Linked DNA regions of Homo sapiens: regions 2, 3, 4 and 5 are each linked to region 1. The links are contacts of gene promoters, found by promoter capture Hi-C in human tissues and cell types (Jung and others, 2019). All regions are on one chromosome and are shown on one strand. Each heading gives the region's core, a stretch centred on a gene start or on the middle of the fragment in contact. The rest is flanking DNA. Distances are from core to core; before and after follow the strand shown.

Region 1 (6,209 bases), core at 1,790-4,289:
GTTTCTGAGATGTTAGGGACAGCCAAGCAGGAAGAAACGCAGGACTATGAAGCAGCCACACCAGGACTAGGTGAGAATTCTTTGGGGATGATTCCAGTCACCTCCCCTAAAGGGGCTTTCATGCTGAAAGAGCCAAGAGGAAGAAGGATTGTAAACACTATCCCTAGTCACAAAACCGGGAGAAAAATCAATCTAGTTCCACATATCACATCCAATACCAACTATAAGAAACCACATACATTTAAAAGAAAAGAAAGACACTTCTGGAGGTGGGAATAACTTTCTAAGCAGTATAAGTCATCAAGAAAAATAAGCAGATTTGACTTGAAAATTTAAAACTTCCTGAACATCTGGAAAATAATTAAAGCATTCATGAAAAATTACTAAAAATACTGAGAAAAATACTAATAATCCAATACCTAAATAATCAAAGAATGCAAACATAATTCAGAAAAAAGTAACTACTGCTTGAGCCCGGGAGGCGGAGATTCCAGTGAGCTGATATTGCACCACTGCACTCCAGCCTGGGTGACAGAGTGAGACCGTGTCTCTTTTTTTTTTTTTTTTTAAAAAAAGGCCGGGCATGGTGGCTCACACCTGTAATCCCAGCACTTTGGGAGGCCAAGGCGGGCAGATCAGGAGGTCAGGAGATTGAGACCATCCTGGCTAACATGGTGAAACCGTCTCCACTAAAAATATAAAAAATTAGCCGGGTGTAGTGGTGGGCGCCTGTAGTCCCAGCTACTCGGGAGGCTGAGACAGGAGAATGGCGTGAACCCAGGAGGCAGAGGTTGCAGTGAGCCGAGATGGCACCACTGCACTCCAGCCTGGGCAACAGAGCAAGACTCCATCTCAAAAAAAAAAAAAAAAGTAACTACAATAAGCAAATACATAGCAAAAAGTTCAGCCTTACCAGCAATCAATGATGCTAATTAAAATAACAAGGAAGTGCCATTTTTTGCTTTTGTTCCCCAAATATATGATACCCAATACTGGCCAAGGCAATATGAAAACAGGCTTCCTCATACATTACTGGAAGCAGAATATAGTTATGTGCAAGCACTTTGGAAAATGATTCCCAGTGTTAAGGAAGAGACATTAAATAGCTGACACACTCTTAATTCTGTAGTCCCAGTTATGAGTCTCTATCATAAGTAGCCAGCTCTTCATTGCAGGATTATTGTAATCACCCACAGGGGAAATAGTAGAATTTCCAGCGGTAAAAAAATACACTAAGGCAGTACATTTAGTGTAGTGTAATGTAGCCATGATAACTACAATAACTGTGTAGCAACATAGAAAAATGTTAAATTTAAAAAGCAGAAGCCTGGGCAACAAAGTGAGACCCCATCTCTTTTTTTTTTTGAGATGGCGTCTCGCTCTGTCACCGAGGCTGGAGTGCAGTGTGAGACCACATCTCTACAAAAAATTTTAAAAATTAGCTGGGCATGGTAGTGATCACCTGTGGTCCCTGCTACACTGGAGGTTGAAGCAAGAGGATTGCTTGAGCCAGGAAGTCAAATCTGCAGTGAGCCATGTTTGTTTGTTCCGCTTCACTCCAGCCTGGGTAACAGAGTAAGACACTGTCTCAAAATAAAAATAAAATAGACAATACTACATACAATTTTGGGTTAAGCAGTGGTTTCTTTTACACCAAAAGCATAAACATTGGACTTTATTGAAATGAAAAACTTTTGGCCAGGCACATTGGCTCACACCTGTAATCTCAGCACTTTGGGAGGCCACAGTGGGGGATTGCAAGGGGAGATGGGAAATGTTCTAAAACTGGATTATGGTGATAGTTGGGCAACTGTGTAAATTTACTAAAAATTATTGAACTGTACATTTAAAAAGTGTGAGTCTTATGGTATGTAAATTATACCCCATAAAGTTGTTTTTAAAAATGAAGTAAGTCCCTCTGCTCAAGACCCAGTCATCTCATCTCATTCAAAGTGAAAGCCAGAGCTTTACAATCCCTATAAGAGCCTAGGTGGTAGCTCAACACTCTTACCTCCCTCACCCCATTTTCTGTATCTCTTTTCGTTGCCCATCTTCTAGCCACACCAGCCTCTGCTAATCCCCAAACAGGTACCCTCTGTGCTCTTGCTGTTCCCTTGGCCTAGAATGCTCTTCCTTAAGATGCAGGTAAGAATTCCTTCCTCACCTTCTTCAAGCTTTTATTTGAATATCACTTTCTTTTTTTGTTGGTTTTGTGTGTGTGTGTGGGGGGGGGGGGTTTGAGATGGAGTTTCCTTCTGTCGCCCAGGCTGGAGTGCAGTGGCATGATCTCGACTCACTGCAACCTCCGCCTCCGGGGGTCAAGCGATTTTCCTACCCCAGCCTCCTGAGTAGCTGGGATTACAGGCGCACGCCACCATGCCCAGCTAATTGTATTTTTTAGTAGAGACGGGATTTAACCATTTTGGCCAGGCTGGTCTCGAACTCCTGACCTTGTGATCCGCCCGCCTCGGCCTCCCAAAGTGCTGGAATTACAAGCGTGAGCCACCATGCCCGGCCTTTTGTTGTTGCTGTTGTTGTTCTGAGATGGAGCCTTGCCCTGTCGCCCAGGCTGGAGTGCAGTGGCCCGATCTCGGCTCACTGCAACCTCCACCTCCCAGGTTCAAGCGATTCTCCTGCCTCAGCCTCCCGAGTAGCTGGGATTAAGCTGGGATTATAGGCGTGCCCCACCACGCCCGGCTAGTTTTTGTATTTTTAGTAGAGACGGGGTTTCACTGTGTTGGCCAGGCTGGTCTCGAACTCCTGACCTCACGTGATCCGCCCTCCTCGGCCTCCCCAAGTGCTGAGATTACAGGCGTGAGCCACCGCGCCCGCCGCCCCCTGAATTTAGAGAATAGCGGAGCCTCCCCATTCTCTGCGGCCTTGGCTCCTACACTTCCCGTGGTAACCTTGTTCATCCGCTGAAGCCCGCTGCTTTTCCCAGCCCGGCCTCTGGGGGCCGCTGCCGGGCCTGTGAGCCTGTGGACCAGGAGCTCCTGCTGCCGTCGTAGCGTCACGTCCGGTCTCGGGCGGAAGTTTTCCGGCGGCTACCGGGAAGTCGCTGAAGACAGAGCGATGGTAGTTCTGGAGGCCTCGCTCCGGGGCCGACCCGAGGCCACAGTGCCTCCGCGGTAGACCGGACTTGGGTGACGGGCTCCGGGCTCCCGAGGTGAAGAGCATCGGGGGCTGAGGTGGGACCTTAGAAGGGAGTCTGGGAACCCTCACGGCTCTTATTGGAGTCCCTTCCCTGACCCTGGGCTCTAAACTGCCTTTGCTCAGGCTGTCCCGGAAGCAGGTCCTCCCCGTATCATACCATTCCTAGAGGGAACGGCGCAGGTTGGGACTTCCCTCCCTTTACCATCGTCACCAAGGCATGTGGTAACCCCGGGCCGGAGGTCAAGGGCGTCGCTTCTCCCTAATGTTGCCTCTTTTCCACGGCCTCAGGGATGGAAGGGTCTAAGACGTCCAACAACAGCACCATGCAGGTGAGCTTCGTGTGCCAGCGCTGCAGCCAGCCCCTGAAACTGGACACGAGTTTCAAGATCCTGGACCGTGTCACCATCCAGGAACTCACAGGTCAGCGAGACCCTTGGAAAGAGGGTGGTCAAGAATGTGGAAGGTGGGCAGCTTTGGTGATATAATTCTTATGGTGGCTGTGTAGTCTGCCACAAACTCATCGTGTGAACCTAGGAAAGTCACTTCATCTGGCTCCCTGTTTTCTCCTTGGAAACATAAAGCATTCTGACATTGTGGACTTCTGAGAGCTTTCCGACCGGGCGCGGTGGCTCACGCCTGTAATCCCAGCATTTTGGGAGACCGAGGCGGGCAGATCACCTGAGGTCAGGAGTTCGAGACCAGCCTGGCCAACATGGCGAAACCCCTCTCTACTAAAAATACAAAAATTAGCCGGGCGTGATGGCACGTGCCTGTAGTCCCAGCTACTCGGGAGGTTGAGGCAGGAGAATCGCTTGAACCGGTGAGGTGGAGTTTGCAGTGAGCTGAGATCGCACCACTGCACTCCAGCCTGGGCAACAGAGCGAGGCTCCGTCTCAAAAAAAGAGAGCTTTCAGTAGCAAAAGAAAGATCCTTATTTTCTGCTCCTGCTGTTTCAGAGAAAAGGAATATGTATATATAATAATAAATGGTATTTTTTGAGGACTTACTATATAGTAATACCAAGTGCATTACACGTATTACTTCATTTAGTCCCTGTAACAACCCGTACGGGGTATACCGTCATTACATCATTTTTCAGATGAAGAACCGAGGCACAGAGAGGTTAAGTGACTTACCTAAGGTCCAACAGCTGGTAAATGGAGTAGAGTCTTAAAGTCTGAAGAATTTGCTGGATGTGATGGCTCACGCCTGTAATCTCAGTGCTTTGGGAGGCTGAGGTGGGAGGATCGCTTGAGCCCAGGAGTTCAAGACCAACCTGAGCAACCTAGCAGAGATCTTGTCTCTAAAAAAAAAAAAAAATTGCTGGGTGTGGTGGGTGGTGGAGGCTGAGGCAGGAGGATCACTTGAGCCCAGGAGGTCAAAGCTGCAGGAAGCTATGATCATGCCACTGCACTGCAGCTTGGGCAACAGTGCAAGACCCTGTCTCAAAAAATAAATTAATTAAAAAGGCCAGGAGTGGTGGTTCACACCTGTGATCCCAGCACTATGGGAGGCTGAGGCAGGTGGATCACTTGAGCAGGAGTTTGAGACCAGCCTGGGCAACACAGTAAGACCCTGTCTCTATAATTAAAAAAAATAAAAAACCCCAAAATCCCGCAAAGTCAGAAGAATTCAGATTAAGTCAGACAGTAAAAGAGAAGACTGAATAGGCAGCTTAAATAAGCTTATGGGCCTGGAGTCAGCCTGCTTGGGTTTAAATCCTGGCTGTCATTTACTAGCTGAACAACTTTTTGCAAGTTACTTCATTTCTCCAAGCCTTGGTTTCTGATTTTTTCTGTAAAACGTTAAACTGCCTCATAAAGAATTTATAAAGTTCAAATATGACAAACCACAGAAACACTTAGGAATTTGCTGGGCAAATAGTATTCAATAAGTATTAGCTGCTATTATTACCTGGTTTCTCTTTCTTGAGGGGAAATTAGCTCTTTTTTTTGTTTGTTTGTTTGAGACGGAGTCTCACTCTGTTGCCAGGCTGGAGTGCAGTGGCGCGATCTCGGCTCACTGCAACCTCTGCCTCCCGGGTTCAAGTGATTGTCCTGCGTCAGCCTCCTGAGTAGCTGGGACTGCAGGCACACACCGCCACGCCCAGCTAATTTTTGTATTTTTAGTAGAGACGGTTTCACTATGTTGGCCAGGATGGTCTCGATCTCTTGACCTTGTGATCTGCCCGCCTCAGCCTCCCAAAGTGCTGGGACTACAGGCGTGAGCCACCGCGCCTCTTAAACTCTTTTAATAACAATTTTTGACTTTTTATTATGGAAAATTTGAGACATATATAGTCAAGAGAATAGCATAGCCTGCCTTGTATTCATCATCCAGCTTCAATAATCAGCCATATTCTCACATTCTTATGTTGTCTACACCTCCATTCACCTCCCATCCTCTGCTCAATTATTATGTTTTTCACACCTTTTTAGAAAGGTAAATTGTCATGACTTGAAATGTATGAATCTTAGCTGTACATTTTTGACAAATGGATACACTGATGTAATCTGGATCGTTGCAATTTAGCAATGTTTCATCTTCCTAGAAAGTTTCCTTATGTTCCCTCCTTGCTATTCTGGGGGAAACAGGATGTTTGCTTTTGTGATGGAAAATTTCAGAGTATATCATGAACTCCTGTGTACCCATCACCTAGTTGCAACAATTATCAACACATATTTAATCAAGTTTTGTCTACAGCCCCATCCATTCCTTCCCACTCTGAATTGTTTTGAAGCAAATCCCAAACATAAATACTGTAAATATTTCTGTATTTTTGACAGATAAGGATTCTTAAAGATAAATGATACCGGCCGGGCGCGGTGACTCAGCCTGTAATCCCAGCACTTTGGGTAGCTGAGACGGGTGGATCACGAGGTCAGGAGATCAAGACCTGGCCAACATGGTGAAACCCTGTCTCTACTAAAATACAAAAAAATTAGCTGGGCATGGTGGTGCACGCCTGTAGTCCCAGCTACTTGGGAGACTGAAGCAGGGGAATCACTCGAACCCGGGAGGCAGAGATTGCAGTGAGCCGAGATCGTGCCACTGCA
Region 2 (6,209 bases), core at 2,261-4,760, 510 kb after region 1:
TTCTGAGGGATTTCTTGAGATGGGGCAGAATGGGGCTTGGAAGAGGGAGTTGGAGCTAATTGACCGTTGCCTTTCTCCTTTGTTGGGGTCCTGAGTCTTGTTCCTGCTGTAAGAGTTACTCACTTCCTGTCTGCCACCTATCTCCCTTTGCATGTGTGCTTCAGTTGGGAGATCTGTTTATCAGCCCCTGCCACACGGCTCTTTGTTCCTTCTGCAGAGGACGTTGGGGTCCCACGGCTGGTCCTTTTGACTCATTTTGCTTTCAAGGTCCCACCTCCCAGTCTGAGGCTGCATCCTCCATTACCATCGCCCTTCCTGTGGGCTGGGAGGCCAGGTCCTTTCCTGCCCAGCGATGTCAGCGTTTCCTCAGGGGCCAGGCACTCATCAGGAGAAAGGAACTAATTACTTGAGTAATTTGCCTTGCCTTGCTGAGAGGAGTGTGCCCTGAGGGACTCCATGTGAGTGTGGTGACGGGTGTGGGGGTGTCCCTGTGTTATTTTAAAATGGGTGCCTTCAGGACGATGAGCATGTGACCATTTCCTCTCTATTTCCATCACAAGAGTATTATGGTATGAGGGTCTCAGGTTAGATTATCCTCCCAAGACTCTTCTCTCTTCCTTCTCTACTGGAAGCCCACATAGCATTTCCTTATGGCTTGAGGGAGAGGTTCGGAGCCACTTACAAATTAGATAAAGTACATTTACAATCTTGTACAAAGCCACACAATGAAGTCATTTTTCTCAGCTTTTTTTTTTTTTTTTTTTTTTTTTTTGAGCCTGAGTCTCGCTCTATCGTCCAGACTGGAGTGCAGTGGCGCGATCTTGCTTCACTGAAACCTCTGCCTCCCAGGTTCAAGAGATTCTCATACCTCAGCCTCCTGAGTAGCTGGGATTACAGACATGCACCACTATGCCTGGCTAATTTTTGGATTTTTAGTAGAGACCGGGTTTCACCCTGTTGGCCAGGCTGGTCTCGAACCCCTGACCTCAAGTGATCTTCCCGCCTGGGCCTCCCAAAGTGCTGGGATTATAGGTGTGAGCCACAGTGCCCAGCCTTGTTTTTGTTTTTGTTTTGTTTTGACAGTCTGTCACTCTGTCACCCAGGCTGGAGTGCAGTGGTGCGATCTCACCTCACTTCAGCCTCTGCCTCCCAGGTTCAAGTGATTCTCCTGTCTCAGCCTCCTGAGTAGCTGGGATTACAGGCGTGCCACCACGCCCAGCTATTTTTGTAATTTCATTAAAGACAGGGTTTCCCCATGTTGGTGAGGCTGGTCTTGAACTCCTGGCCTCAAGTGATCCACCTGCTTCAGCCTCCCAAAGTGCAGGGATTACAGGCATGAGCCACTGTGCCTGGCCTCAGCTATCTTGAATGCTGGAGAATTAAATCCTTTTCTGTCTAGGGTGTCAGCTCCCTAAGGGCTGGGCCAAAACAGTTGGATTTATAAGACACTAGAGTCTTGCCTCAGTAGCTCCTTTGAATTCTGCACTGAATTGATCAGTTTCTTGGCCCAAAGTAAACTCAGATGGCAGCCCAAGAGCCACTCTGCAGTGCCTTCTTTCACATGGTCATCATGCTCTCTGATCCCTCAGGTTCTGTCTAAGCCTCATGTTTTATGACCGTGCTGTTCTCAGCCCACCTCACCCTGCCCCATGCCTTCTCAATGGTTTGTTCACCTGAATTCCCCAGATTTCATGCCAGTATCCCCAAGGTTCCTTGACCTCTTGGTGTAAGCATTCAGCATCTAAAATTCATTTTATTCCCGTCAACGCATTTCTAACTGTAGAACAAGAATTATAAATGACAAAGCTCATAGAAAATTGGCACCTTGTCTTCCCCCTCCCTCTTATTTTATACATAAAAGAGAATATGGGCTGGGCATTGTGGCCAAGGCTGGGCATGATAGCTCATACTTGTAATCCAGCACTTTGGGAGGGTGAGGCAGATGGATCACCTGAGGTCAGGAGTTCAAGACCAGCCTGGCCAACATGGTGAAACCTCATCTCTACTAAAATTACAAAAAAAAAATTAGCTAGGCATGGTGGCAGATGCCTGTAATCCAGCTACTCAGGAGGCTGATGAAGGAGAATCACTTGAACCCTGGAGGCAGAGGTTGTAGAGAGCCAAGATGGCGCTACTGCACTCCAACCTGGGCGAAAGAGAGCAAGACTCCGTCTCAAAAAAAAAAAAGACAAAAATTAGCCAGGCATGGTGGTGCCACCTGTAGTCCCAGCTGCTTGGGAGCCTAAGGCAGGAGAATCGTTTTGACCTGGGAGTAGGAGGTTGCGGTAACCGAGATTGTGCCACTGCACTTGAGCCTGGGCAACAGAGTGAGACTCTGTCTCAAAACAATAAGAACAACAGCAACAAAAGAGAGAGACCATGCCTTGCTCCAGGTCTCTTAGCTATTGAAGATGTACCTGGACCCAGGTCTCCGGTCTTCTAGTTGAAGCAATTGTACTGCCTTACAAAGTCACATTCTCTTTGGTGCTTTTTGATTGACGTATTTATCCAACTAGAAAGTTACTCATGCCCTCATCCAAAAATGTGGTAGAGGCCAGATTAGTGCTGGTAGGAATAAGAGATATAACCTTTGGCTTTGGAACCACAAGCATTAGCAGTCTCCATGTTCTTTAAAGACTTGGTGATATTGGTATTTAGGCTGGACACCATGCAAAGACTACACAGGCTCGGTTCCTGCATGCAGAGAAGTTATCTAAGAGATATGACCAGGCCGGAATAGAATGCTCAGACCACGTGGAGGCTGTTAAACTTTTACATAATCTAGGGAAAGAAGGGACACAAGGTGGCATTAGTCTAGGGTCAGGTGGGAAAAGGTTATGCTGAAAAGTCTCTGCAGCTCAGGACAGCTTTGTGCAAAGAACTGAAGTTCACAGCTGCTAGTGCCTGGGAGATCAAATAGTATAAATGAGGGCAGACAACCCTGAGGGGCAGATGGAGCTTTCCAGACAATCTTGGCATGAGGATGAGTGAGTTTCAAATCAGTCCTGCCGAGGCAGATGGCTTCCTCCAGCTCTGCTTACTGAATGCGAAGTCACAGTCAGTAAGAAAACTGGTTTTCTTCTTCCCAGGCGCTGCCCCATACCTGAAGACCAAGTTTATCTGTGTGACACCGTAAGTGGCTTCCTTTCCCCGTTTTGCCTTCATTTCTAATATCCTCAGTTATCCCTGGGAATGGGACACTGGGTGAGAGTTAATCTGCCAAAGGTTGGAAGCCCCTGGGCTATGTTTAGTACTCAAAGTGACCTTGTGTGTTTAAAAAGCTTGAGCTTTTATTTTTCTGTTGGAGACCAGAGTTTGATGGCTTGTGTGTGTGTGTTTTGTTCTTTTTTTTTTTTCCATTGTGTCTTGTCAACCCCCCGTTTCCCCTCCTGCTGCCCCCCATTTCCTACAGAACGACCTGCAGCAATACCATTGACCTGCCGATGTCCCCCCGCACTTTAGATTCATTGATGCAGTTTGGAAATAATGGTGAAGGTGCTGAACCCTCAGCAGGAGGGCAGTTTGGTGAGTATTTGGTTGACAGACTTTGTCCCTATAAGGGAAGTTGGTCCCCTTTGTGTGATGCTCTCACATGTACACACCGAGAGCTGGTCACTCGGAATGGTAGGAGATTCTAGAGCTTTGCTTTCCAAAAGAGATGGTATGAATGCCACATGTGTGAGTATAAATCTTCTAGCAGCCACACTGGAAATAGACGAACTTAATTTTTACAATATATTTTATTTAACCCACTAAATCCAACATACTCTCAATTTAACATTTCAGAAAAAGTTGAGGCTGGGTGAGTGGCTCATGCCTGTAATCCCAGCACTTTGGGAGGCCGAGGTGGGTGGATCACTTGAGGTCAGGAGTTCGAGACCAGTCTGACCAAAATCTCTAAAATATAAAAATTAGCTGGGCATGGTGGCGCATACCTGTAATCCCAGCTACTCAAGAAGCTGAGGTGGGAGGATCGCTTGAGCCTGGGAGGTGGAGGTTGCAGTGAGCAGAGATCGTGCCACTGCACTCCAGCCTGGGCGACAGAGTGAGACTCCATCTCAAATAAACAAAACTAAACTAAAAAGAAAAAGTTGAGACCTTTTTTTATTCTTTTTTTTCATACTAAGCCTTTAAAATCCAGTGGGCTTTTGACAGCCACAGCACAGCTCAGTTTGGACAAACCAAATCTCAAATGCTTGGTGGCCACGTGTGTCTCGGGGCTCCTGAATTAAACAGTAGATCAAGGGCAGAAGATCTCAGGACAGCCTTAGAGCTTCTGTAAACATGGAGCTCTGGGAATCAGTTAAGGTGGGAATGAGAAAGGACCCTTCCCGAGGCAGGGTCCTCCAGGGAGGAGGGTAAATCTGGCTTTTCTGACCATCCCTGGGCCTTAAGGGGCAGGAGATTGGATAGCAGTGGTAGCCTGGGCCCTGTCCTCTGAAGGGCTGGGGGCGTGGCCTGCCAGTTGCAGAGGGTGGACAACTGAACTAGTTTTCCCTGTCTGTCCCTCCAGAGTCCCTCACCTTTGACATGGAGTTGACCTCGGAGTGCGCTACCTCCCCCATGTGAGGAGCTGAGAACGGAAGCTGCAGAAAGATACGACTGAGGCGCCTACCTGCATTCTGCCACCCCTCACACAGCCAAACCCCAGATCATCTGAAACTACTAACTTTGTGGTTCCAGATTTTTTTTAATCTCCTACTTCTGCTATCTTTGAGCAATCTGGGCACTTTTAAAAATAGAGAAATGAGTGAATGTGGGTGATCTGCTTTTATCTAAATGCAAATAAGGATGTGTTCTCTGAGACCCATGATCAGGGGATGTGGCGGGGGGTGGCTAGAGGGAGAAAAAGGAAATGTCTTGTGTTGTTTTGTTCCCCTGCCCTCCTTTCTCAGCAGCTTTTTGTTATTGTTGTTGTTGTTCTTAGACAAGTGCCTCCTGGTGCCTGCGGCATCCTTCTGCCTGTTTCTGTAAGCAAATGCCACAGGCCACCTATAGCTACATACTCCTGGCATTGCACTTTTTAACCTTGCTGACATCCAAATAGAAGATAGGACTATCTAAGCCCTAGGTTTCTTTTTAAATTAAGAAATAATAACAATTAAAGGGCAAAAAACACTGTATCAGCATAGCCTTTCTGTATTTAAGAAACTTAAGCAGCCGGGCATGGTGGCTCACGCCTGTAATCCCAGCACTTTGGGAGGCCGAGGCGGATCATAAGGTCAGGAGATCAAGACCATCCTGGCTAACACGGTGAAACCCCGTCTCTACTAAAAGTACAAAAAATTAGCTGGGTGTGGTGGTGGGCGCCTGTAGTCCCAGCTACTCGGGAGGCTGAGGCAGGAGAATCGCTTGAACCTGAGAGGCGGAGGTTGCAGTGAGCCAAAATTGCACCACTGCACACTGCACTCCATCCTGGGCGACAGTCTGAGACTCTGTCTCAAAAAAAAAAAAAAAAAAAAGAAACTTCAGTTAACAGCCTCCTTGGTGCTTTAAGCATTCAGCTTCCTTCAGGCTGGTAATTTATATAATCCCTGAAACGGGCTTCAGGTCAAACCCTTAAGACATCTGAAGCTGCAACCTGGCCTTTGGTGTTGAAATAGGAAGGTTTAAGGAGAATCTAAGCATTTTAGACTTTTTTTTATAAATAGACTTATTTTCCTTTGTAATGTATTGGCCTTTTAGTGAGTAAGGCTGGGCAGAGGGTGCTTACAACCTTGACTCCCTTTCTCCCTGGACTTGATCTGCTGTTTCAGAGGCTAGGTTGTTTCTGTGGGTGCCTTATCAGGGCTGGGATACTTCTGATTCTGGCTTCCTTCCTGCCCCACCCTCCCGACCCCAGTCCCCCTGATCCTGCTAGAGGCATGTCTCCTTGCGTGTCTAAAGGTCCCTCATCCTGTTTGTTTTAGGAATCCTGGTCTCAGGACCTCATGGAAGAAGAGGGGGAGAGAGTTACAGGTTGGACATGATGCACACTATGGGGCCCCAGCGACGTGTCTGGTTGAGCTCAGGGAATATGGTTCTTAGCCAGTTTCTTGGTGATATCCAGTGGCACTTGTAATGGCGTCTTCATTCAGTTCATGCAGGGCAAAGGCTTACTGATAAACTTGAGTCTGCCCTCGTATGAGGGTGTATACCTGGCCTCCCTCTGAGGCTGGTGACTCCTCCCTGCTGGGGCCCCACAGGTGAGGCAGAACAGCTAGAGGGCC
Region 3 (6,209 bases), core at 2,771-5,270, 320 kb before region 1:
GTTATCCCAGTGACTTTCCAGCTTAAAATTTGGAAGCAAATTTTCCTTAAGAGACTAAGTACCCATATCTTCACATGTTGATCAGCTGTTATGTATGGCCCACAGTTCACAACTGAATAGCATGTATACTACATATTCAAATTTTTAGTATTTCACTTCACAATAACAAAGTTATTAGGAAAACAGGACTACCACAACCAAAGATGTTACAGAGTGCCCACAACTCCAACAGGGTGAGCCATAATCAAGGAGTTGTTTTCTTTAGGAAACAATTCTACTACAAAACAACATGGGGATGGAAGTAATTTAAAATGTTCAAGACATTAAATGCAGGACTGACTCCATATTGCCATTTAATATGCTTTGTATTACAGGATATAAAAACTAACCCCCATCTATGGAATGTTAAGCTGACACCCGAGACTGTCAAAGTCTCCCATAATTCAATATCCTACACAATTTTCTGGTTGTACCAAAAAATAAACAACCAGCAAATGATTTCACCTCTTAAAAAAAAGCATTTACACTTAAAAAATGGAATGAGGTGGGATTCCCTCCTTCTCAAAAATGTTTCTAGAGCTACTAAAAAACTTGCATTTACAAAATAGTTGATAAAAATATTCCTCTGGAGGCCGGGCGCAGTGGCTCACGCCTGTAATCCCAGCACTTTGGGAGGCCGAGGCGGGCGGATCACGAGGTCAGGAGATCGAGACCATCCTGGCTAATGCGGTGAAACCCCATCTCTACTAAAAATACAAAAAATTAGCCGGGCGTGATGGTGGGCGCCTGTAGTCCCAGCTACACGGGAGGCTGAGACAGGAGAATGGCGTGAACCCGGGAGGCGGAGCTTGCAGTGAGCCGAGATCGCACCACTGCACTGCAGCCTGGGCGACAGAGCGAGACTCTGTCTCAAAAAAAAAAAAAAAGAAAGAAAAAAAATTCCTCTGAATTGTAAAGAAGGGAGACAGGGACCACTGATAAGACATGGTCTATGGTATTCATCAGACTTGGCTTCTTTATCTCCTGCTTCATCAGAGGCTGGACTCTCCTCAGTTTTCGTTTCCCCTGTTTTCTGCAGGTAAATCTTCTTTAGTTTTTTGGTTAGCCACTTCGGCCTGTTTTCCCTTTGCTCCCCTTTTCCCTTTTTTTGCACTTTTGTGTCTGAAAATTTATCCTTCGCTGCTGCCTTTTTCGGCTTCGCTTCCACTTTTGCAGGAGGTTTAGCTGACAATTGCGCTGATCTCCTCTTGGGCTCTTCCATGGCAGCCCCTTCGGTGGAGCTGACCTTTTTCTTGGGCATCCTGGCAGCAGGGAAGGTGGGTGCCAGGTGCCTGCTGGCCGCGGTGTGCCTACAGCCTTCGCGAAGCTGGGCTGCCTGGCCGCTGCCACTCCTCCCGCCACCGGAGCTGCTCTCGCTATGTTGGCCAGGCTGGTCTCGAACTCCAGACCTTAGATGAACCACCTGCCTCGGCCTCCCAAAGTGCTGGGATTACAGGCATGAGCCACCATGCCTGCCCTCGGAGCTGCTCTTATTTTTCTTATATTAAAGAATATATATAACTAATTCTAGCCATGCAGTAAGACATTTAAATGTGTAGTTAAATATTTATGCATAAATAACAAGGGCCATCAGAAAGAAAAGCAGGACTGAAGCTGGCGGCCCACGCATCCACAAAGGCAGCAGGCAGAGGAAGCACAGGGCCATCTTTCCCTGCCTTGTTTCCCAGTCTAATTAGTCATCCAGACCTAAAAACATATCCTCAGAGGGTGGAGATTTTACAATTAAATATCGTTGTTCTTGGTGCCCTCTCCCCTGGTTCATCAAGTATAATACCACATACTTGACCTCCTGCCCACAGGGGACCTACCACCTCCTGGCCCCTCTCATAGGATCACTGGGCCTACCTGCACTGTGTGGCCAAGCCCTGTCTTTTTCCCAAGCCCTCAAGCCCATGCATGAATGTTCATTCAGACATGGTAGGGGGCTTTTCGCCCTTACAAGATGGAGGAAAATTCACTTTATTTTTTTTATTGAGATGGAGTCTCGCTCTGTCACCCAGGCTGGAGTGCAGTGGTGCAATCTCGGCTCACTGCAACCTCCGCCTCCCAGGTTCACGCCATTCTCCTGCCTCAGCCTCCCGAGTAGGTGGGACTACAGGCGCCCGCCAGCATGCCCAGCTAATTTCTTTTTGTATTCTTAGTAGAGACAGGGTTTCACCATCTTAGCCAGGATGGTCTCGATCTCCTGACCTTGTGATCTGCCCGCCTCAGCCTCCCAAAGTGCTGGGATTACAGGACTGAGCCACCGCACCCGGCCTGGTTTTTTTTATAATTTATTTTTCTTTTTAAAAATCCCAACCTTTGGATAGCAGGGAGGTGCTGGAGGGATAGGGTCAAGAAGAGTGTGTGAGAGCAGTAATTTCCCAAGACTGCCCTCTGCGGGACTGTATTTCAGAAAACATACTGGTGGGGCTACCTCTCCATTCACGTGTACTGCCCTAGCCTCTCCCCATCCCCCGCTGATGCACTTCCATAGATGCACTGTTCCATAACGGCAGCAGAATGCTGCAGAAGGCGCAAGGATTCCTCCACTCCATCTTCAAAAAAAAAGTCACTAATAAATCACATTTGGTAAGTTAGTGAACATGAAACACATTAGTGAGCAAAAGAAAATCTGAATGAACAAGAATTGGTAATCTACCTAACTGAACACAAATGAACGCTGGCAGTTCAGTAATAGGAAGTAAAGAACAGTGCTAACTGCAGAACAGCAGCACCCCCATCCCAGGAGCAGTGTGACTGGGAAGCAGCCCTGTGTGCGTGCTGTGGGGGTTCTAAGCAAAGTGAGCCGCCCATCGGTTTCCATGAGTTTGCTGATGTCAGACAAAAGACACCTGTTCTTTAGCTGCCTGCCCCAATTATCTCCCAAAGTTCCTTACTGAGAATGAAAAGTGTCTTTATCTGTGTGGTGACTTCAGTGGGCCAACAAATATTTGAGTCTAAAGCACAAGACTAGGCCGGGCATGGTGGTTTATGCCTGTAATCCCAACATTTTGGGAGGCCAAGGCAGGCGGATCACCTGAGGTTGGGAGTTCAAGACCAGCCTAACCAACATGGAGAAACCCGTGTCTACCAAAAAAAATAAAATAAATAAATAAATAAATAAATATACACACACACATATATATACATATATATATACACATATATACATATATATACACACATATATACATATATATGCACACATATATACATATATACATATATATATACACACATATATATACACACACACACACACATATATATATACACACACACACACACACACACACACAAAAATTAGCCGGGCATGGTGGCACATGCCTGTAATCCCAGCTACTCAGGAGGCTGAGGTAGGAGAATCACTTGAACCTGGGAAGTGGAGGTTGTGGTGAGCCAAGATCACGCCATTGCACTCCTGCCTGGGCAATAAGACTGAAACTCTGTCTTAAAAATAATTAAATAAAAAGTAAAGCACAAGACTAAATAGTCATAGGCAGAACAGCAGCTACCATTTACAATTTGCTTACTTGATGCCAAATCCTGGGTTAGGCATTTTACAGTCTTATATGATTTAGCCCAGCAATCCATGGAAGCATAGTTTTTAAAATCATCATCTGACAGATAAGGATACAGGGCTAGAAGGACGTAGGTGACCTGCCCAAGTGTCCAAGGCCACACATCCAAAACGACAAGTTACGGTTTTAAGCCAGCACTGTTAGGCTCAAAGCCTTGTAACCATTCCTCTGTCCGGCTGTAGGACATAGGGAGATAAAGGGGGATAAGCCATGGTTGCCATTGAAGAGTCAATAACAATAACATACGGATGGTGAGAATGATGGCAGCTGCTGTTTGTTGGGCACCAGCTGTGGTCAGGTACAGTGCTAAGCACTTTAATTACACTGTTAAGTCACCAGGACAGAAACTCCCCCACACCAGCTCTGTAATAGGGGTGAGTGTTGGACATAAGCAGGGAGTTGACAAGAAGCCAAGACTAGGCTGGGCACAGTGGCTCACGCCTGTAATTCCAGCACTTTGGGAGGCTGAGGTGGGTGGACCACCTGAGGTCAGGAGTTCAAGACCAGCCTGGCCAACATGGCAAAACCCCGTCTCTACTAAAAAATACAAAAATTAGCTGGGGATGGTCATGTGCTCCTGTAATCCCAGTTACTCAGGAGGCTGAAGCAGGGAGAATTGCTTGAACCCAGGAGACGGAGGTTGCAGTGAGCCGAGACTGGGCCACTGCACACCAGCCTGGGCAACAGAGCAAGACTCCATCTCAAGAAAAAAAGAAGCCAAGAGTAGAGATCCTTGCACTGCTGGGCTCCCAAAGTCTGGATTCCAAGCACCTCCAGGTTCCTATTTTGGCATATTTACATAATTTCACATTTTTATGCTAAATTTTTTTTTTCGGTCTGTCGCCCAGGTTGGAGTGCAGTGGTGCGATCTCGGCTCACTGCAAGCTCCGCCTCCCAGGTTCACGCCATTCTCCTGCCTCAGCCTCCCAAGTAGCTGGGACTACAGGTGCCCGTCACCACACCTGGCTAATTTTTTGTTTTTAGTAGAGATGGGGTTTCACCATGTTAACCAAGATGGTCTCGATCTCCTGACCTCGTGATCCGCCCGCCTCAGCCTCCCAAAGTGCTGGATTACAGGTGTGAGCCACCGTGCCCGGTGATAATTTTTTTTTATATAACAAAAAATTTTTTTATGTATCTCAAATGTGCACATTTTTCTTTTGAGACAGGGTCTTGATGTGTCACCCAGCCTGGAGTGCAGTGGTGCATTCATAGCTCACTGCAGCCTCAAGCTCTAGGGCTCAAAAGATCCTCCTGCCTCAGCCTCCAGAGTAGCTGGGGGTCTACAGGCATGCACCACCATGCCTGGCTACAATTCTTATTATTCCCCAATGCTACCCCAACCATATTTCTAAAAACTCCCAAAGTAAGATTCTATTTTGCCCAGTTTGTCCTCAATTGAGCAGTTTTGTCTGAGCCCAGAGTTTCTGCTGGGCCAGCCTGTGGATGAGCTGTCTCTCCCAGGCCGGTGCCCATCCCTGCCAGTAGCCTGGGAGGGGGAGGGGTGCCCAGGGTCAGGTGGAACAAAACATGACTGCCTAGGGCTGCCTCTGTCTCCATCTCACTGACGGCAAACCATAGCTCAGAGGGCCAGCTCTTAAGTGAGACCTGAGTGCCACAGAAAGGTGGACACAAGGCCAACAGCTACTAAATGAAAGAAAATTCTGATTCCAATGAAATCTGCCAGAGAAATAAAGCATTTTTTAAAGGATGATGAAATAAGGCGATGTCTGATTAGGGCAAACATGATGCAGACAGGAAATGCAGCAGTTCAGAGGAGGGAAGGTCAGGCCGCCTGGGGAGAGTCCATGAAAAAGATGGAACATGCCAGACGTTGTGCCTGGCGCTGGGAAAGAGTTGACTAGGACAGCATCCCTTTCCTCAAAGGGCTCCTAGACTAGGGAGAGGGCCGGACATCTGAATACATCCTGAGGAGACAGTGTGGGACAGCATGCTGGCAGTGGAGCCAGCCGTGGTTCTGCTCTTGGTCGGCTGGAAAGGAGTAGATATAAGGGATGGCTTAGAAGAAGGGAAGTGGAAGAAAAGTTTTCTGAGCAGAAAAGAGGAAGGAAAGGCCTTCTAGACAGGACACTACAAAGGCAGAGAAGCCCTAAGCAGAGTGAGCACCAGACTCCACAGGTTAAGGGCTCAGTCACACAGGACCGCCCTCACGTCAGACCCCAGGTGCAAGGCCAAGCATCACCTATGCATCTGACCAACTGGCTATAAATTGGAGGTCCCCACAACTCCCTCCTCAGGTTTGACCATTTGCTAGAACAGCTCACAAAACCCAGGAAAATAGTTTACTTACTATTGCTGATTTATTACAAAGGATATTTTAAAGGATACAAATGAACAGCCAGATGAAGAGATACACAGGGTGAGGTCTGGAAGGGTCCTTGTGGAGTTGGGGTGCACCATCCTCCCGGCACATGGATGTGTTCGCCAACCCAGCAGCTCTCCATGTCCTGTCTTTCAAGGATTTTTCTGGAGGCTTTGTCACGCAGGCATGATCGAGCTCCAGCTCTGCTCCCCACCCCAGAGGATGGGGAATGGGGCTGAAAGCACTAAGCTTCCAACCATAGT
Region 4 (6,209 bases), core at 1,612-4,111, 300 kb after region 1:
TGGAGGCCCCTGGAGGGAGGAGTGAAGAGGGAGGGTACCGAGAATGCAGTGCCTCACTAGGCAGTGGGGAGGGGGCCTCCTGCCCAGCCTGCCACCCTGGACGGTCTGCCTGCTCTCCACCCTGCCGCCTGCCAATCCCAGCACCTCACATTCCCCAGCTGCCCTGAGGAACCTGTGTGGAGCCTCCACTTACACTAAGGCCGGGGTATCAGGGCTCAACATAGCCAGGCCACTGGGCCCTGGAGGGCACACTTGGAGAAGAGGGAGAGGCGCGTGGGGAGATACCCAGTGCCCCTCTGCCCCCATGCTGTCTGGATGTGCAATGAGTAAACGGGAGACGAAGATGGGCTGCCCAGTCCCCTCTTCCCACAGGTAGTGTCTGCAGAGCTGACTTGGATCCTGTGAGTGGGAAGGCGCCTGGGAAACTTGGGACAAGGTGAGAATTTCCCAAACCAACTGCCCAGCCAGGCCTACTGAAGCTGTGGCCTTTGATAGAAGGAAAAGCAGCAATGCTGGAGGAGGGAGGCGAAGGTCAGGGGTCCACAGGGGCTCAAGATGGCTGAGCCTGGAGCGACGCAGGGGCTGTGGGCACAGTGACAGGCAGCTTCTCCGGGGAAGTCAAACATACTTTATTCAACATAGGAATGTCTGAACAGGAGGACCTTGGGCAGGGTTCCCTGAACTCTGCTTCAAACCCCACTGGAAACAGAGCAAAGATCATCACGAAAACCCAGGACACCAGGGCAGGGGGGCTGCACAAGGTCGGGTCAGGTCACAGTGGGCCAGCACACAGTGGCCCCGCCCAGGGCCAGCCCAGCCTGGGAGAGGGGATGAGGGCTCCAGGCAGCTCACTCAGAAAAGCCAGGGTAGGAGGAGGGCACCAGCCTGGCCCACTCAGGGAATTCTTTCTACCACTGAAAGCGGTGGGGATTAACTTAGCCAGGGCTGCCACGCCAGCACACGATTACAAGGTTCGGGGTGACAAGGAGGAAGCCCCTTGGCAGGACTGTGCAGCCCTCACAGCCACATGCACGGCAGCCCTGCCAATGGCTTCCAAACAGCAAACCATCAGTGACACTGACCTTCCCTGCCCAGGACACCCCTCCTGAGACCTGGGGCCAGTGTGGTGAGGAGGGGGCACTAGGGGCGGAGCCAGGCAGGCTGCAGGCAGAACCAAGAGGACCCCAGTCCCACACTGAAGACATCATGATTGGGGGTGGGGAAGATCTCAGGGTCTCCATCAGGGAAGAGCATCAGTCTGCACCCTCGGCCTGAGGGTGTGCTTGTGGGCAGGGCCCATGCAAGGCCTGGGAAGAAGCCAACCCCGAGAGAGGGAAGCCCTGTGCACTGCGGAGCAGCCAAGGCCTCTGTTCCAAGCATCCCGGCTGTGCTATGTAGTGCAGGGCATGAACGGGGAGAGAGGAAAGGATGGGAGTGCAGGGTGGGGTCAGAAAGGCGGTGTAGATATCCTATGACCCCTGGGGATGACAGGGAGAAGCCACTCATGATGGCCTAGTTGGGTCCAGCTGAATGCCAGGGGGGTGGGCAAAAGACGCAAATATCATCTTCCTGGACCCACCCCTGCTAATCCAAGAGTGGGACATGTTACCAGTGTCCCCTTCTAGGGAAGAATCTGTATTACTCCCCCCACTACTCCTGCTAGAAACTACGGTGGCAGATGCAGGGAACTCAAAGTCTAGATGTGAATGGCATGGGTGCTCCTTCCATCTACAATGCACGGGGAAGATGAAAGGGCTTTGGGATGGCGTGGGAATGCAGACTGGCTCACCACCAGGAGGTGGGAAGGGCTGTCTGGATGGATGGAGGCTAAGAGGGCAAGGCTGGTGCCCAGTGAGTATGAGTGACAGCCAGAAAATCACTACACTACACACAAAGCTAGGGGTGGTGGGAGACCCAAGGAGGACTATTCTATCTAAATGACTCACAGACAGGGTGACACGAATGAGCTGGTGCCCACAGATCACAACCAACAGGCAGAGAGGCACAGCTGATCACTGTGGAGGGAGGCGGGGAGGGTAGCATGGGGCACACGGCCCTCACAGGGACTCACTCTTCAAACTTCCCTTCCCGAATATGCTCGAAGGAGAAGGGTAAGAACTTGAAACCGGTCCCGCTGTAGAATTTATTCTGGAACTCAACCCTGGAGAAAGAGAAGAAGAAAGCTGTCATTCAATAGAAACTTTGTGAAGCTTTTTAGGACTTCACAGTTGGGCAGGAAAGATGCCCCGTGCCCACCTCACCCCGAGCCTCCCTTCCCTGGGGAAGCTAGAGAAAGCCCAGAGTGCAGAGATCCCACTTTTAAGGCCTGGGATCAAGAGTTCGACGCACGGAGGAAGGGATTTGCCCTCAGTTCCCAATCTTGCTCTGTCCTGCCGAGCAGTGTGTTTATGCACAACTCTCTGCAGAGAGGCATGTGCAAAAAAAGTTCAGTTACCTTGAGCCTAACATCGTTAATGAACAAGTGGCCCCCATCGCCCCCTCCTGGCAGGGGATCACACAGCCCACCTCTAAGGGAAGCCCCTCCAGAGACACTGGGCAAGCACCTCTGTTTGCTTGTTATTTTTCCTTGGGGGAGCAAAAGGGCGAGCTTGGAGTGAATGTTGAAGGCTTTCCATTTAAGGAAGGAAATTCCAAGGAAAGAGGGGGAGTTAGGAGGGGAAGTCTTCTCAAAGCAATGGCAAAAATATTCTCCAACCACAAAAACATCTGAGAAAGAATTCTTCTCTTGGGGACTAAAAAGAAAAAGCCTGAGCTCCCTTCCCAGCAGTTCAGCATCCATGCCTGATGGTCTCTGTGGGGCCCTTTCACTCTCAGGGAGGGTGGGAGGAAGACTGTCCCATAAGCAGAGCGAGGCTGCTTGGCTGTGCTTCCTCCTGCAAACTCACCCTGGACAGCTGCCCAGCAACCAAACCACACCAAATAAGGGCAGAAAAATGCATGATTCAGGGGATAAAAAGGCCAAGGAGAGCTGCCCTGAGGAATAGTTTCCACATGGTGCTGTGTGACCCTGGAGGCACCGGAGCCCCTATAAGAACAGGCAGGCGTGGGGGCTGGGGCAGGCTCCAGGTGACAGGTCACGTGCAGGGTGAGGGCTTTGAGGCGCTTTAAAGCTTCAGGAACCCTCTAGTTCCCTAACTCAGCTTTTACAAATGGAGATTCCTCCCTCCAAGCCAAGAAGGCAGGAATTAAGAGAACAGGGGCTGGGAGGTGGCTGGGGCCCAAAGGTTACAGACTGTTTGCCAGTGGCACTGGGAGTTCCTCAGAGGCCCCTTCACTGGGGTGCAGGCTGAGGAGCACCCCCTTGAAGAAGAGCGCAACCGAATTTTCTGAGTGGGAGTAAAAGCAGTCAGCTTTCTTCCCCACATCCCCACATTCCACAGGGGTGGGCCAAGGTCCTCCAGGAAAAACAGGACTCAGGAGGGGGAGGACACAGAGCTTCCAACTGACGTTAGCTGACGGTTCCCACCAGAGCAATTCCAAACCAGGACCTGGATTCACCCACGTCCCAACACCCCACCAAAACTACTTCTCCAAGTTCCAGCTACTGAGACCACCTCTGAGGGAACGCGGTGGGGCCTAGCAGTGGGTTCCTGCTTCTCACCCACTTGTGTTAGGTTTGAATTCTTCATGTTGAATAGACTGTGTTCCCATGTGGCAAGGGTTATTTCAGAACAGCTGAAACGAGATTTACATGTCCCCTTTTCATTCAACAATACATAGCCAGAGAGTGGACAAGTCACCTGAGGGTCCCAGGCCATTACCTAGGAGTGAATGTCAGCCTTGGTAGGGTATGCTGACCCCCGACTCCAGTGAGGTGTCCAGAACTCTGACCCCCACCCCCTCCTGGCTAATCACAAAACCATTCTAATCTTCAAACTGGGCAAATGGAGCAGCAGCTTTGTTTTCAGATGCCTGTGGGGGCACCGCCCTTTTCTTGGCACCCCTCCAGTCACCTTATCTACCCATGGGGGCCCAGCAAGGAGGAAGAGGGATATATGCCTGGGAGGGGCACATCAATTGTACTGTGTGAGCAGACAGGTGGCCTCCCTGACATACTGCCCAATACTGCCCCTCCCACCAGCTGCTGCTTTAGAGACTTAGAGCGGCCAGAACTGGGACATCTTGGGTCTATCTTGAGGTCAGCCTGATTTCACCTCCTTCCGTGGCCACCCTCACCCCAACCACCCAGCACAAAGCTGGAAAGCAATTTCCCTGCTAGTCTCCCCACTCTCTCCCGCTGAACTGGGGAAATGTGTGCTTCCTGAGAAAGTACAAACATGAAGTTCCCCAGGGCAAGGGGGGCCCCATCTGCCATCCTAGGTTCTTCCTTCTTTTTGGGCATCTCCACTGCTCTGCTCAGGGAGCCTCCAAAGTCTTGCCATGCCCCAAGACACTGAAATGCACCTCTAGAATTCAACAGCTGTGAGGAGAGCCTCAGGACGCCAGATGAGTGTCTCTATCATCTCTTCCAGCTCCAGCACTTGGCAAAGGCCACCTGGTGACTCAGAGGGATTAACTGGGGCCAAAAGACATCATTCATGCCACGTAACAGGAACTCTGTTTCCTCGAGTGGGTGAAGGAGGAAGGAGTCTTGGGGCCGCTTCCCTTCCCTGGTGGGGGTTGTGACTGAGGGCAGGCAGTCTGGAAAGACAATTCTGGGCTGAGCTGTTTATGTAGCCTGTTCTGCCACTCTCTGTGCCGTTCAGGGCCTACAACACACATCTGTCTGACGGCCTGAATATCAGGGCAATGATGGCAGCCTGGAACTACATTTCAAGAGTTCTGAGTTCTCCTGGGCAGCCATTCCCTCAACTGCTCCATGCTGTCATGCCGTGGCAACACTGCATTCCTAACAAGAAGCTGGTCCCCGATTCTGTCCCTTTAATCACCACCCAATCTGTGAGTGTACAGGTAGGTGTACATCTATGTGTATGTGGAATTCGCTAGGTAAGGAGAGACCAGGTTCCTTGGAAGGTATGCCCTGGGGCAATAGTTCTGCATAAAAATCAGTTTGATGTTTACAGTGATAACTACAATCAAATCCCTGTCTCATGCCTTCTCTGAGGAAGAAAAGATGTCTAATTATGGTAGGTAAGAAGCCAAGCACACTTCATGTGGCAGGAGGGAGGAAAAGAGAGAAAACTCAGGAGACAGAATTAGCAGATTAATACATTAGCCTGCTCACTGTTTTCAAACACATCACCCCCCTTCCTATGATGCTGCATGAATCTCACACTAGTGGTTTATATGTTATCGAATCAAATGTTTTTCTTATTGTCCCCACTGAGGAGACCAGAACTTGTATAATGGGGCAGCCCTTGAATCAGGAAACAGCAGGGATAAAGTGGGAGGTATGAAGATGCCTAGGATGGATGCCAGGAAGAACAGCAGCACCATCCCTACAGCTGGTTCAGCAGCCCCAGAGGCTCCACCCCTGGTAAGAGGGCCACAGCTCAGAACGCCTCCTGCAGTCCTGGGCCACAGGGAAGATCCAGGCATCCTGGACGCACAGCCGCATTTTGCCAGGAGGGGGCGCACAAGCACCAATTTCATTCACTTCTGTTTTAGTGGTGGGGGAGGCGCCCCACTCGTGTCACGGGAACAGCCCTCCAAAGACGAGATTCTGGAAGTTGCACAAAGGAGGTTTGCACTGTTTTTTCCTCTCCTACCCAATACTCCTATTGCCAAAATAAATACGACATATATGGGGAGGCTGTTCCTTGCAAACAGCACCTGAGGGCATTCTGATGGTATCCTCTGCCTCCTCTGGGGTCTTCTCTCACTCTAGACAGGCTAAAAGCAGTCTTTTTATGGGGGACCCCAGGCAGACACCCTCTCTCTAGGGCATCCCAGGTTTTTTTGTTGTTGTTGTTGTTGTTGTTGTTTTGAGACGGAGTCTCGGTCTGTCGCCCAGGTTGCAGTGCAGTGGCGCGATCTTGGCTCACTGCAACCTCCATCTCCTGGGTTCAAGCGATTCTCTTGCCTCAGCCTCCCGAGTAGCTGGGATTACAGGCGCCCACCATCACGCCCAGCTAATGTTTGCATTTTTAGTAGAGATGGGGTTTCACCATGTTGTCCAGGCTGGTCTCGAACTCCTGACCTCAGGTGATCTGCCTGCCTCAGCCTCCCAGAATGCTGGGATTATAGGTGTGAGCCATCGCACCCAGTAAGGGCATCCCACTTTTAAG
Region 5 (6,209 bases), core at 1,390-3,889, 290 kb before region 1:
ATTATTACATTTTAGCACCTTGACCTATCTGATGTCCTGCATACACAGGCATGGTCCTGCTCAGGGTTTGCCTTCTCTGCTCCCTCTTTCTTGGAATGCTCTTCCCCTAATTGTTGCATAGTGTGTTTCTTTACATTATTAAGCTATCCTCTAGTCTCACCTCAGTGAAACCTTTCCTGACTCCCCCCATGTACATCTCACCCCCACATAGATATTGAACTACCTGTTTCCCCTTACCCTGCTTAATTTTTCTCTTTAATGCACTTATTCCCATGTATTCTTTAATTCCGTATCAACTGTCTACCACACTAGAATATGAGCTCTATGAGAGCAGGCTTTATTTTGTAAACTGCTACATTTCTATCTCCTAGAATAGTACTTGAATATAGTAGTAGATACTTAATAAACACTTGTTATATTAGTATAATAAATGAACTAATCTCAGGAATGCCTTGGTTTTGTGGATAGACAGGTAGGGATGGGAACTTGGGTGATGTATTTTCTGAAGTTTTTATTTTTAAGCTTATTATTATTTTGAGATGGAGTCCAGCTCTGTCGCCCAGGTTGGAGTACAGTGGCGCGATCTTGGCTCACTGCAACGTGCACTTCCCCGGTTCAAGCGATTCTCCTGCCTTAGCCTCCCAAGTAGCTGGGATTACAGGCGCATGCCACCATGCCCAGTTAGTTTTGGTATTTTTAGTAGAGACAGCGTTTCACTGTGTTGGCCAGGCTGGTCTCGAAATCCTGACCTCATGATCCGCCCGCCTCGGCCTCCCAAGTGCTGGGATTACAAGCATGAGCCCCCGTGTCTGGCCTTATTTTCTTTTTTTTGAGACAGAGTCTTCCTCTGTCACCTAGGCTGGAGTGCAGTGGCACGATATTGGCTCACTCTGCAACCTCCACCTCCAGGATTCAAGTGATCCTTCTACCTTAGTCTCCAAAGTAGCTGAGACCACAGGCATGCGCCACCACGCCCGGCTAATTTTTGTATTTTTAGCGTAGACAGGGTTTCACCATATTGTCCAGGATGATCTGGAACTCCTGAGCTCAGGTGATCCACCCACCTCAGCCTCCCAAAGTGCTAGGATTACAGGCATGAGGCACCATGCCCGGCCTTAAGCTTATCATTTTCTAAATTTCCTTTAGTGAGTACTTATTACACTGTTTTTACAAAGTAATCACAAACCAAACATCATGCCTCTTCTGAAGTGATCTAATAAGAGTACACAGTACCATCTGTAAAGTGTTCTTGCCAGAAAGTTGAACCTGAATGATTAAGCCTGTAAGTCTAGTTTATAGGAAATAAGGCTAGAGGAACAAGTTAAACCTCACCATAGGGTTATACAATCAGCAAAATCCAGAATGGGGGAAACTCCACAGGTCAAATGACCTAATTTTAAAAATAAATGACAAGGGAGAAAAAGTAAGAGACACCTATAGATCAGAAGACACTTGGGGCTGGGCATGGTGGCTCACACCTGTAATCCCAGCACTTTGGGAGGCCAAGGCAGGCGGATCACCTGAGGTCAGGAGTTCAAGACCAGCCGGCCAACATGGTGAAACCCCAACTCTACTAAAAATACGAAAAATCAGCCGGGCGTGGTGGCGCACGCCTGTAGTTCCAACTACCTGGGAGGCTGAGGCAGGAGAATCACTTGAACTTGGGAGGCAGAGGTTGCAGTGAGCCGAGATCGCACCATTGCATGCCAGTCTGGGCTACAAAAGCAAAACCCCATCTCAAAAAAAAGAAGACACTTGGGTTTGGGTGTGTTGGCTCATGCCTGTAAACCCCGTGCTGGGAGGATTGCTTGAGCCCAGGAGTTCAAGGCTGCAGTGAGGTATGTTTGCACCACTGCACTCCAGCCTAGGTGACAGAGTGTGACCTTATCTTAAAAGTAATAATAATTAAAATAATCTGGGGTAGGGGTGGATATGGGTGAAACAGCTTGGCCATGAGTTGATGGTTGTTGGACCAGGGTGATGGTCCATATAGTTCATTTTATTATTTTATTTACTTGAAATTTTGAAATACTTGAAATTTTCCATATTAAGTTAAAAAGGCATTTACAGTAAACAAAAAAAAGTTCTAGGAAGGAATTCAAAAGAAATATAAGCAGAAAATTTTGTCTTTATGGAGCTTAAAGATGAGATGTGCACCCACAGTGATAGTGCAGAAAAATATATCACTGGAAATGAATTCGTACGAACTATTATCAACTAATCTTTTAAATGCTGATGATAGTATAGAGTATTGAAGGGATCAATATAATTCTGTTTTGATATCTGAAAGCTCACTGAAGGTAAGGATCGTATTCTCTGCTGTATTCTCAGTTCCTGACACAGCAGACATTTAATAAATATTGAACGAACTTGAGGCCTTATGTTGACTCAGTCATAACAGCTCAAAGTTGAACTTATTCACTAAGAATAGCTTTATTTTTAAATAAATTATTGAGCCTCATTTATTTTCTTTTTCTCCCCCCCTACCCTGCTAGTCTGGAGTTGATCAAGGAACCTGTCTCCACAAAGTGTGACCACATATTTTGCAAGTAAGTTTGAATGTGTTATGTGGCTCCATTATTAGCTTTTGTTTTTGTCCTTCATAACCCAGGAAACACCTAACTTTATAGAAGCTTTACTTTCTTCAATTAAGTGAGAACGAAAAATCCAACTCCATTTCATTCTTTCTCAGAGAGTATATAGTTATCAAAAGTTGGTTGTAATCATAGTTCCTGGTAAAGTTTTGACATATATTATCTTTTTTTTTTTTTTTGAGACAAAGTCTCGCTCTGTCGCCCAGGCTGGAGTGCAGTGGCATGATCTTGGCTCACTGCAACCTCCGCCCCCCGAGTTCAAGCGATTCTTCTACCTCAGCCTCCCAGGTAGCTGGGACTACAGGCACCCGCCACCATGCTTGGCTAATTTTTGTACTTTTAGTAGAGATAAGGTTTCACCATATTGGCCAGGCTGGTCTCGAACTCCTGACCTTGTGATCCACCTGCCTCGGCCTCCCAAAGTTCTGGGATTACAGGCGTGAGCCACCACACCCGACTGACATATATTATCTATTAGGATGTAACATCATTTTGAACAGTGTTTTGTATTTTTTGTGTCCATCAGTGAAAGCAAACTGCAAGCAGTTTTGAAATAAGCACATTGTGTTTGAGCCTTCCCAGTTTCTCCTTTCTGTTCATTTCTGCATATCCTTATGCATTCCCCCTTCTAAGGGTCAGTGTTTGCCCGCTTTGTAATCATTGTGAAGACAGGAAAGGACCTGATACCAGTTTCTATTTAGGCCAAAATTCATTTATAGCAGTGATTCAAGTTATATTTACGTATTTGATGATCTTGTCTTTTGAAATGAAAATGTTTGTTTCTTAATAAAAGAATTTCAGAAAAAGTAGAGTAGGTAATTTAGTAGAACAAGTGGGCTTTCTCCTTTTCTTTATGTTAAGCTATGGCTCACATCTTACCTTAAATGTCAACTAATTTGTTTTTAAGTATTTATGTACCTGGTACATAACCTGGTACCAGGTACAAACTATGTACTTGGTAAAAAGTTTATTAGCACAAAAAGGTATATGATGCAAAGTATACTTCCCTCTTACCCTACAACCCCTGCCTCCCTGTTCCCTCCCCAGACAACCACAATGATCAATTTCTTATGTATCCTTTGAGGAATTTTTAAATTCCAGAGTTCTTAACTTGGGGTTTATGAATAGTCTTTATGAATTTCCTAGAATTATATTTAAATTGTATTCAAAACTATGGCCATGTACATTTTTCTGGGAAGATAGTCCATAATTTTCATCTGAGTGAGCTAAGATCATGCCACTGCATTCCAGCCTGGGCGACAAGAGGGAGACTCAAAAAAAAAAAAAAAAGTCCCAGTATTTACTACAGAGAGCTAAAGATTAACCTTTAAAGCCCTGGGGCTTTCAATTTATCTGGATGAGAATCTTTCTGGAATGAACTGTATGTTTTCTTGTCAGCTTGAGTAACAAATGCTGAACATACTATACTATTATTACAGGGACTCAAGGGCCCAGTGTGGTAGCTCCTGCCCATAACCCCAGCACTTTGGGAGGCCAAGGCAGGAAGATCACTTAAGGCCAGGAGTTCGAAGCTGTAGTGAGCTATGATCACACCACTGCACTCCAGCCTAGATGACAGAGTGAGACCCTGTCTTTTTTTTTTTTTGAGATGGTGTTTCACTCTATTGCCCAGGCTGGAGTGCAGTGGTGTGATCTCGGCTCACTGCAACCTCCACCTCCTGGGTTCAAGCGATTCTCCTGCCTCAGCCTCTTGAGTAGCTGGGATTACAGGCATCTGCCACCACACCCAGCTAATTTTTGTATTTTTAGTCGAGACAGGGTTTTCACCATGTTGGCCAGGCTGCTCTCAAACTCCTGACTTCAGCTACCTTGGCCTTAAAAAGTGTTGGGATTACAGGTGTAAGCCACCGCGCCTGGCTGACCCTGTCTCTTAACAAAAAAAGAGAGATTAAGTTATGAATATAGTTGCTTTGAGAACTTGTGGAAGAAGGAAATTATAGGCTTATAGGCAGAGATAATAATACGAGCAAATGTACAAATAAAAGAAAATAGAGGACGGGCGCGGTGGCTCACGCCTATAATACCAGCACTTTGGGAGGTCGAGGTGGGCGGATCACGAGGTCAGGAAATTAAGACCATCCTGGCCAAAATGGCGAAACACTGTCTCTACTAAAACACACAAAAAACTAGCCTGGCATGGTGGCACGTACCTGTAGTCCCAGCTACTTGGTAGGCTGCGGCAGGGGTATCACTTGAACCTGGGAGGCAGAGGTTGCCCTGAGCCGAGATCATGCCAATGCACTCCAGCCTGACAACAGAGTGAGACTCTGTCTGAAAAAAAAGAAAAGAAAAGAAAATACATCCAGGAAAAATAAGCTAACTTTGCATATGTGTATAGGAGTTGTGTTAGAAAAGGAAGAAGCCCTCAAAGATGGGAAGCCATTTGCAAGAAAGAGAAGGTCCAAGAGGAGGCAGAAGGGATTGGAAATAGAAAAAGGATGTAAGAAAGAGTTGATTATTACTCATAAACAGTAATGAAGGAAAAGGAGAGTAATTCTACAGGAAGATGCTGAGGTGCTTTGAGCCCAGTGAAGTTGGAGGTAAAGACAGCTGTTGAGGCCGGGCACGGTGGCTCACGCCTCTAATCCTAGCACTTTTGGAGCCCAAGGCAGGTGGATCACCTGAGGTCAGGAGCTCAAGACCAGCCTGACCAACATAGAGAAACCCCATCTCTACTAAAAATACAAAATTAGACGGGCGTGGAGGCGCATGCCTGTAATCCCAGTTACTTGGGAGGCTGAGGCAGGAGAATCACTTGAACCTGGGAGGCGGAGGTTGCAGTGAGCCGAGATTGCGCCATTGCACTCCAGCCTGGGCGACAAGAGTGAAAACTGTCTCAAAAAAAAAAAACAACAAAAAACAGCTGTTGAGATTGAGAGGATTAGAGTTGGCAACTGGAGAAGAGTGAGAAGCTTGGTTTCAAGCTTGTGATAGTCAGGATTGTGATAGTCAGGAAAGAACCAGTCATAAAGATATATGTGTGTGTATACATATAAATATGTTATATATATGTGTGTGTGTGACACATATATATTTTTGTTTGTTTCTTTGAGACAGTGTCTCCCTCTGACACCCAGGCTGGAGTTCAGTGGTGTGATCATAGTTCACTTTTACCTTGCAATCTGGGTTCAAGCAATCTCTCATCTCAGCCCCTCAAGTAGCTAGGACTACAGGTACATGGCATTTGCCCAGCTAATTTTTAAGTTTCTTGTAGAGATGGGCCAGCCATATTTTAAATTGTGTTTTGAATGTTATATTAGAATTAAAAGTCCAAAGCCGGGTGTGGTGGCTCACGCCTGTAATCCCAGCACTTTGGGAGGCTGAGGTGGGCGGATCACGAGGTCAGGAGTTCGAGACCAGCCTGGCCAATATGGTAACACCATCTCTACTAAAAATACAAAAATTAGCTGGGTATGGGGGCACATGCCTGTAGTCCCAGCTACTCAGGAGGCTGAGGCAGAGGAACCTCTTGAACCCAGGAGGCAGAGGCTGCAGTGAGTTGAGATCGTGCCACTGTACTCTAGCCTGGGCGACAGAGCAAGATTCCGTCTCAAAAAAAAAAAAAGTCCAGTATAATGCCCATGTGATAGATCG

What was found. Contacts are between HindIII fragments. The study calls those that stand out against the background at their distance.
Region 2: a fragment that was not itself captured here is called in contact with the fragment with the promoter of BECN1 in region 1 in 1 of the 25 tissues and cell types used here (hippocampus).
Region 3: a fragment that was not itself captured here is called in contact with the fragment with the promoter of BECN1 in region 1 in 1 of the 25 tissues and cell types used here (bladder).
Region 4: a fragment that was not itself captured here is called in contact with the fragment with the promoter of BECN1 in region 1 in 1 of the 25 tissues and cell types used here (pancreas).
Region 5: a fragment that was not itself captured here is called in contact with the fragment with the promoter of BECN1 in region 1 in 4 of the 25 tissues and cell types used here (bladder, dorsolateral prefrontal cortex, liver and 1 more).

Annotation. Positions count from the first base shown.
Region 1 is chr17:42,821,112-42,827,320 of GRCh38, reverse strand. It overlaps BECN1 (beclin 1), which reads left to right and starts at 3,039. Exons shown (of 12, transcript NM_001313998.2): 1 at 3,039-3,166; 2 at 3,442-3,573. The coding sequence starts at 3,444. It overlaps MIR6781 (microRNA 6781), which reads left to right and starts at 3,378; the gene lies at 3,378-3,441. RefSeq lists enhancers at 2,110-2,676, 2,681-2,810, 2,677-3,245, 3,246-3,812. The HindIII fragment of the contact is 8,869 bases long and covers 1-6,209 here.
Region 2 is chr17:42,314,105-42,320,313 of GRCh38, reverse strand. STAT3 (signal transducer and activator of transcription 3) reads left to right here. Exons shown (of 24, transcript NM_139276.3): 22 at 3,090-3,132; 23 at 3,413-3,525; 24 at 4,514-6,209. The coding sequence ends at 4,569. Among named protein-coding and RNA genes, the nearest start is that of STAT5A, 29 kb to the right of the region's middle. The HindIII fragment of the contact is 8,739 bases long and covers 1-6,209 here.
Region 3 is chr17:43,140,047-43,146,255 of GRCh38, reverse strand. NBR2 (neighbor of BRCA1 lncRNA 2) reads right to left here. Exons shown (of 8, transcript NR_138145.1): 7 at 3,680-3,799. It also overlaps a transcript of BRCA1 not described here and the pseudogene HMGN1P29. Among named protein-coding and RNA genes, the nearest start is that of NBR2, 18 kb to the right of the region's middle. The HindIII fragment of the contact is 9,487 bases long and covers 1-6,209 here.
Region 4 is chr17:42,516,979-42,523,187 of GRCh38, reverse strand. It overlaps ATP6V0A1 (ATPase H+ transporting V0 subunit a1), which reads right to left. Exons shown (of 22, transcript NM_001130021.3): 22 at 609-2,161. The coding sequence ends at 2,068. Among named protein-coding and RNA genes, the nearest start is that of MIR5010, 5.9 kb to the right of the region's middle. RefSeq lists a silencer at 5,589-5,638 and an enhancer at 6,082-6,209. The HindIII fragment of the contact is 4,137 bases long and covers 793-4,929 here.
Region 5 is chr17:43,112,066-43,118,274 of GRCh38, reverse strand. BRCA1 (BRCA1 DNA repair associated) reads left to right here. Exons shown (of 23, transcript NM_007294.4): 3 at 2,496-2,549. Among named protein-coding and RNA genes, the nearest start is that of BRCA1, 10 kb to the left of the region's middle. The HindIII fragment of the contact is 5,789 bases long and covers 1-5,533 here.